Linked DNA regions of Homo sapiens: region 1 is linked to region 2. Evidence: promoter capture Hi-C in 16 types of primary human blood cells and fetal thymus (Javierre and others, 2016). All regions are on one chromosome and are shown on one strand. Each heading gives the region's core, a stretch centred on a gene start or on the middle of the fragment in contact. The rest is flanking DNA. Distances are from core to core; before and after follow the strand shown. Region 1 overlaps IL1RAPL1 (interleukin 1 receptor accessory protein like 1). Region 2 holds the start of TASL (TLR adaptor interacting with endolysosomal SLC15A4).

What was found. Contacts are between HindIII fragments. The CHiCAGO score rates a contact against its expected background, and 5 or more counts as called.
Region 1: a contact is called between a fragment that was not itself captured here and the fragment with the promoter of TASL in region 2, in 1 of 17 cell types (M1 macrophages). The highest score is 5.9, in M1 macrophages.

What each region holds. Positions count from the first base shown.
Region 1 is chrX:29,482,648-29,485,660 of GRCh38, reverse strand. All of the region lies in intron 5 of IL1RAPL1 (interleukin 1 receptor accessory protein like 1), which reads right to left. Among named protein-coding and RNA genes, the nearest start is that of MIR4666B, 90 kb to the left of the region's middle. The HindIII fragment of the contact is 3,746 bases long and covers 1-3,013 here.
Region 2 is chrX:30,576,462-30,579,352 of GRCh38, reverse strand. TASL (TLR adaptor interacting with endolysosomal SLC15A4) reads left to right here and starts at 1,587. Exons shown (of 3, transcript NM_025159.3): 1 at 1,587-1,715; 2 at 2,487-2,601. RefSeq lists an enhancer at 1,356-1,565. The HindIII fragment of the contact is 8,514 bases long and covers 1-2,222 here.

The DNA of each region.
Region 1 (3,013 bases), core at 96-2,595, 1.1 Mb after region 2:
TGCTATTTGTGGTACATATAGCATGAAAGGACTGTGGACACCATGGAGAAAGTGAATCACAGGAAGTTTCAGAGTCCTGTGATAAAGATTTTCACAATTAAGAGTGGGGTTAAAGGAGCACAGTACTTGAAATCACATAGACCCAAGACAGAATCCTCTTTGACACTGACTCAGGCTACCTAGGAGGAAGAATAGTACTACATACCTTGCAGAGGTGTATGAGTCTTAAATGGATTAGTGTTTGTAAAATCCCTAGTGTCCCACCTGGCACACATCAAGCGTTCAAACAAATGCTAGCTATTATTTTCCACTCAGCAAGTATTAACAGACATCTCTTAAGTGAAGTTTTATGTGCTTTGCCAAATGCATCATTCAGTTTCTACTCATTTGGAGATAATAAAACTATAGGCAAAGGATTATTTTTCTTTCATTTCATGATGCATACTGTAATATTTATTATAATAAAGTAAAATACTTCTGCAGCTCATTTTGGTTATTTTTCTAAAGTACACCTAGTATTAGGTAGAATTAAATTTCAGAAATCATTATTTGAACTTTGTCAGAAAAAAATGCTAACAAGATTTTCCCAATATTAAAATAGCTTCAGAATAATAATCTAATTCTTGAATTCAGGAAAACGCTTACACAATGGTTTTTACCTTCAGTTTGTGTTAATCCTTTAGTGATTGTACAGGCATTTATTTTGTAGTGTATCATTTAGGTCTGAGGGTAAGGGTCATCTCTCCAGAGAAGTCTCCTGATTATCCTACTTAATGTTGTTCCTTCCCCCATTGTTTACTCTCTCTTCTTTTATTCCATAACACTAATCTCAACCTGACTGCATATTATTTATTTTGCATTTGCTTTGCGTTCTGTCTTCCCCACTAAAAAGGAAGCATAAGGAAGCCAAAGCCTTATCTAGAATATGCCCATGATATATGTTCCTGCCTCAGGACATTTGCACCTGTCTTTACCTCTGTCACCGATTTCAACATGCACTTTCTCACTTCCTTTAACTCTCTACTCAGATACCAGTTTCTTCCTGGAACACTGTATCTGAAATAACAATAACCATTCTTCCCCTCTGGTACCTCCTACCTCCTTTATTTTGTTGCATCAGTCTTCATGTCACTTATTATGATCTAATATAGTATTTTTTGCTCGTTTATTGTGTGCTATGGTGTGAATGTGTTCCCCAAACTTTATGTGTTGGAAACTTAATTCCCAAATTCATATGTTGATCGTATTTGGAGGCGGGGATTTTGGGAGGTAATTAGGATTAGATAAAGTCAAAAGGGTGAGCCCCCATGATGGGACTGGTGGCTTTATAGGAAGAAGAAAGATCTTGCCCTGTCACCATGTGATACCCTTCGACATATTATCACATAGCAAGATGGCTCTCACCAGATGCCAGCACTATGCTGTTAAAATTCCCATCCTCCAGACTATGAGCTGAATAAACTTTTTTGAAAATAAATTACCCTGTCTGTGGTATTTTGTTATAGTAACAGAAAATGGACTAAGACATTGTGTTTCTTTCTTTCTCCAAGAAAAGCAAGATCCAGTAGGAGAAACAAGTATATTTTATCCCTAGCACCTACAACAGTACCTGTTACAAAGTAGGTGCTCAATGAGTTTTTTTTTTTTTTTTTTTTTAATGGACTACTGGGCCAGGTGCAGTGGCTCACGCCTGCAGTACTATCACTTTGGGAAGCCAAAGCGGGTGGATTGCTCGAGGCCAGGAGTTCAAGAGCAGCCTGGGCAACATGGCAAAACACAGTCTTTACTAAAAAATACAAAAATCAGCCACGTATGGTGGCGTGTGCCTGTAGTCCCAGCTACTCAAGAGGCTGAGGTGGAAGGATGGCTTGAGCCCAGGAGGTAGAGGTTGCAGTGAGCTGAGATCGTGCCACTGCACTCCAGCCTGCTGAGTGACAGAGCCGGGCCCTGTCTTAAAAAAAAAAAAAACTACTACTACTGTAGTACTTTCTGCTAGAGCTCCCAACAATATTACATGCTCATGCTTATGTTATATATCATAAGAATAATTTATTTCTATCTTAGTGTCTATTAGTTATAGCTTCACAGTTGTAGTCTCACTAAGGAAGGTTACTTCCCTCTTATAATTTTAACTTCTGTGTGGTGCCGAATATACTACTGTAATGCAAAGAAACAAACCGCCTAGAAAATAGCATCGCAGAACGTATGACTTTGTCTCTAATATGGTAGCATACGGACATCACCAACATGATATTTTTCACACGGGCTACCTGGGTACCATACTTCCCAGGATAGAGAGTGAAATTAATCCACGTGGAAGGCCATACATTACTTCCTCAAGTTTACTGAAGCCTTTGCCCATTTTAATTCAGTTCAGTAACTCTCCATTCTGAGATCAAGAGGCTTTCTATCATTTTTGGAATGAAATTTCAGACTCTAAACATATGGGCTTCCAAAATATGTCAGTGGAGAACAAGAGGATTTCAATTACAGTGGCTAAAATAGCTCTGAAAACTGCACTATATTTAGGAATATAGTGTTTTATCCCACTGGCATCTTCTAAATTATTCCATTTTCTTCTCAGATATATCAGAAGGAAACAAGATATAATGAAGGATGTTCACTGGAGTTGAATAAAGGAACTGATCTTTTTAACTTTGGCATCAGATAAAAGCCATTATCTTGAGGACAGAGTAAGGCATGTCTTTCTAACGTAAACACAAATACCCTAATATTGTTGCTTAAGATGTGGAAGCTCTTCACTTTAAGACCATTATCTTAGTCTTATCAGAATCGATGGAATAAAATGAGTATTTAAAATATATTACAAGGAATGACCATGTGTTGGTAATTATTGTACCTGGGTGATGGGTACAGGAAGGTTCATTATACTGTATGATCTACCTTTGTATGTTTGGAAAGTCCCGTAATAAAAGTTGAAATGTATTATAAACAAAAAATGGAATGACATAAATGTATGAAAATCAGGAACTATGCTTTATCCACAAAATGA
Region 2 (2,891 bases), core at 338-2,837:
ATTTTTCATGATGTAATTATTATGCATCATATGCATGTATCGAAACATCTTATGTACCCCATAAATATATACACCTACTGTATACCTACAAAAATTAAAATACAAAATTTTAAAAAGAAATATTCTATTACATAAGCATGTATATACATATATTCCTTAAAAATACAAACTGGAAAATGAGTTCTTGCTAAACAATATATGTTAGAGATCTTTTTTTTTCTTTTTTTTTTTTTTTGAGATGGAGTCTCGCTCTGTCACCCTGGCTGGAGTGCAGTGGCACAATCTCAGCTCACTGTGACCTCCACCTCTCGGGTTCAAGGGATTCTCATGCCTCAGCCTCCGAGTAGCTGGGATTACAGGTGCCCACCACCACGCGTGGCTAAGTTTTGTATTTTTAGTAGAGACAAGGTTTCACCATGTTGGCCAGGCTGGTCTCAAACTTCTGACCTCAAGTGATCCACCTGCCTCGGCCTCCCAAAGTGCTAGGATTACAGGCGTGAGCCACCGCACACAACCTACATAGGATTTTAAGTATGCATACGTTCTCATTTACTTGGCCAATATCTTATTTATGGATATAATTTTTTCTAGTCATTTATTTTCTCAAGCAATGCTGCAACAAATATCTTTTCACATAAGTCTTTGTGTACAAGTGTAAACATATAGCTTGGACAAATTTATAAAAAATACAATTGTTGGGTCAAAGGGTATGAATATTTGTATTTGAGAGATACTGGGAAATTGCCCTCTAAATATGTTTACAATCTCATCAGTAGTGTTTGAGAGTGCTTGTTTCTTCACAACTTTGCCCACACCATGTATTATTGTTTTGACCTTCGGTATTTGGAGAGGGAAAACTTTTTTCTTTTTTTTTTCTTTTGAGACGGAGTCTCGCCCTGTCGCCCAGGCTGGAGTGCAGTGGCGCGATCTCGGCTCACTGCAAGCTCCACTTCCCGGGTTCACGCCATTCTCCTGCCTCAGCCTCCCGAGTAGCTGGGACCACAGGCGCCCGCCACCGCGCCCGGCTAATTTTTTGTATTTTTAGGAGAGACGAGGTTTCGCCGTGTTTGCCAGGATGGTCTCGATTTCCTGACCTCCTGATCCACCTGCCTCGGCCTCCCAAAGTGCTGGGATTACAGGCGTGAGCCACTGCGCCCGGCCGAGAAAATTTTTTTCATTTACATTTTTAAAAATTATAAGTACCATTGAGAAATAATACTTCTTAAAAATTATAGATTAGTAACGAAACAGAATTTCCTAAAGTCATATGTGACTTTGGCTTTCTTTTGGGTGAAGGATCCCAGATAATGTACTTTTCTAGAAAGGAAATTTAATTCTGTTGCTAGGGTTCTTACAAAATGTGTAACCATAAACTATTTTAATAAGAGACAGTTTCGTAGATAGGTTTCATTTTTCGAAAAAGGGGAAGAAACACCATTCTGTGGCTTGATGTGGCTTTGTCAGTTACTGCCTCCCCACCTCCCGGGACTTCCCACTGCCTCTTTAGCACAAATCGGACTTGAACAAAAACAACTCTTTTTCCATGGGACCAATTATAAAAAGAATGGCTTTGCACTGAGCAGCTCAGTCTACTGGTCTCATCAGTGAAAGGCTTGTGAAAATTTCTGGAAAGAGCATTGGCTGGCTTGTTCATCTCTCTGTTTGGTCAGTTGCTGTGTTTCTGCCGGATCAGATGAGCAGATTGGTTAGTGAAGGTAAGAAAAAGAAAGCAAAGGACCCTAGAACTCCGCTATTATTTTTTGTCATCTGTCTTCTCACGCTTTCTTAGCCCTTTATCACGAGAGCGCTGATCCATTCTTATGACATCTAAAATGCTTTTCTAGCTTACCATATCAGAGACAAGTGGGAGTTTAAACAAGCATTCAGTGGAGTTGAAAAATAAAGAGAAATTAAGCCCAATACTTCCTTTCCTTACCTCCTCGTGTCCACATTCTAAGCATTTCTAAAACACTTATATTTTTACCTACAATTTTTGACTGATCTGAGCAAATATTTATTGTGTTATTTTTGCAGTCCTCTTTCACTAATTGCCACACTGGTTTAGCTTCTGCATTTTTAAAAGAAGGCCTAAAAACCTAAGCAGGGTTTTGCAGGGACAACACAGCTCTTGAATTCAGTTACGGTGATGCAGTTTTAGAGACGAAAACAATCACAGTCCTTTCCAATTGGATTTGACTCTCAATTATTCAGTTCAGCAAGCTTGTGATAGTGTTTTTCTGTGTGGCAGGATGTATTCAAAATGAATGCGATCTATAGTGAGGATGCTTTTCGACTTTCATCTGGGTGATTTGGGGAAAGCTTCCCTTTTGGTATTAAAGATAGCGCATGTACGAGTGGAGTTTTGTTTGAATTATCTTTAGACTCGCTCAAACATTCTTTGTCTTGCGCATATGAATCTGTGCTTAAATATAGACCTGGTTTGGACAGAATATTTATATTGATATTTTATAACATTTCTTGCATAGGTCAGTGTGAGAAGAAGATTGTTTCTGAGCTTGAGAAGCTTCTGGAGGATTGAAGAGTATTTGAAGTCTGTGTCAAACATCCATATCATAAGTGGAATTTTGGAGATATTCAAAGGTAGTACACTAATTCTATTATCTCAGAGCAAAATGATGTTTGAAGTATTTATATCAAGTCACTGAGACATTTCTCATCTCATATGTAGTGATTATTTTAGATATATAAGATATTGTCCCTCTAGGCTCTTAATAAACATTATACAATGTAAATATGCCTTCATTAACTAAATATGGTTTTTTCCCCCTCCCAATTTTTATTTAGAAATGTTTCAAATCTATATAAAAATTGAAAGAATAGTACAACGAACACCCATATTTTCATCATGTGTATTAATCAGTGGTATCTTT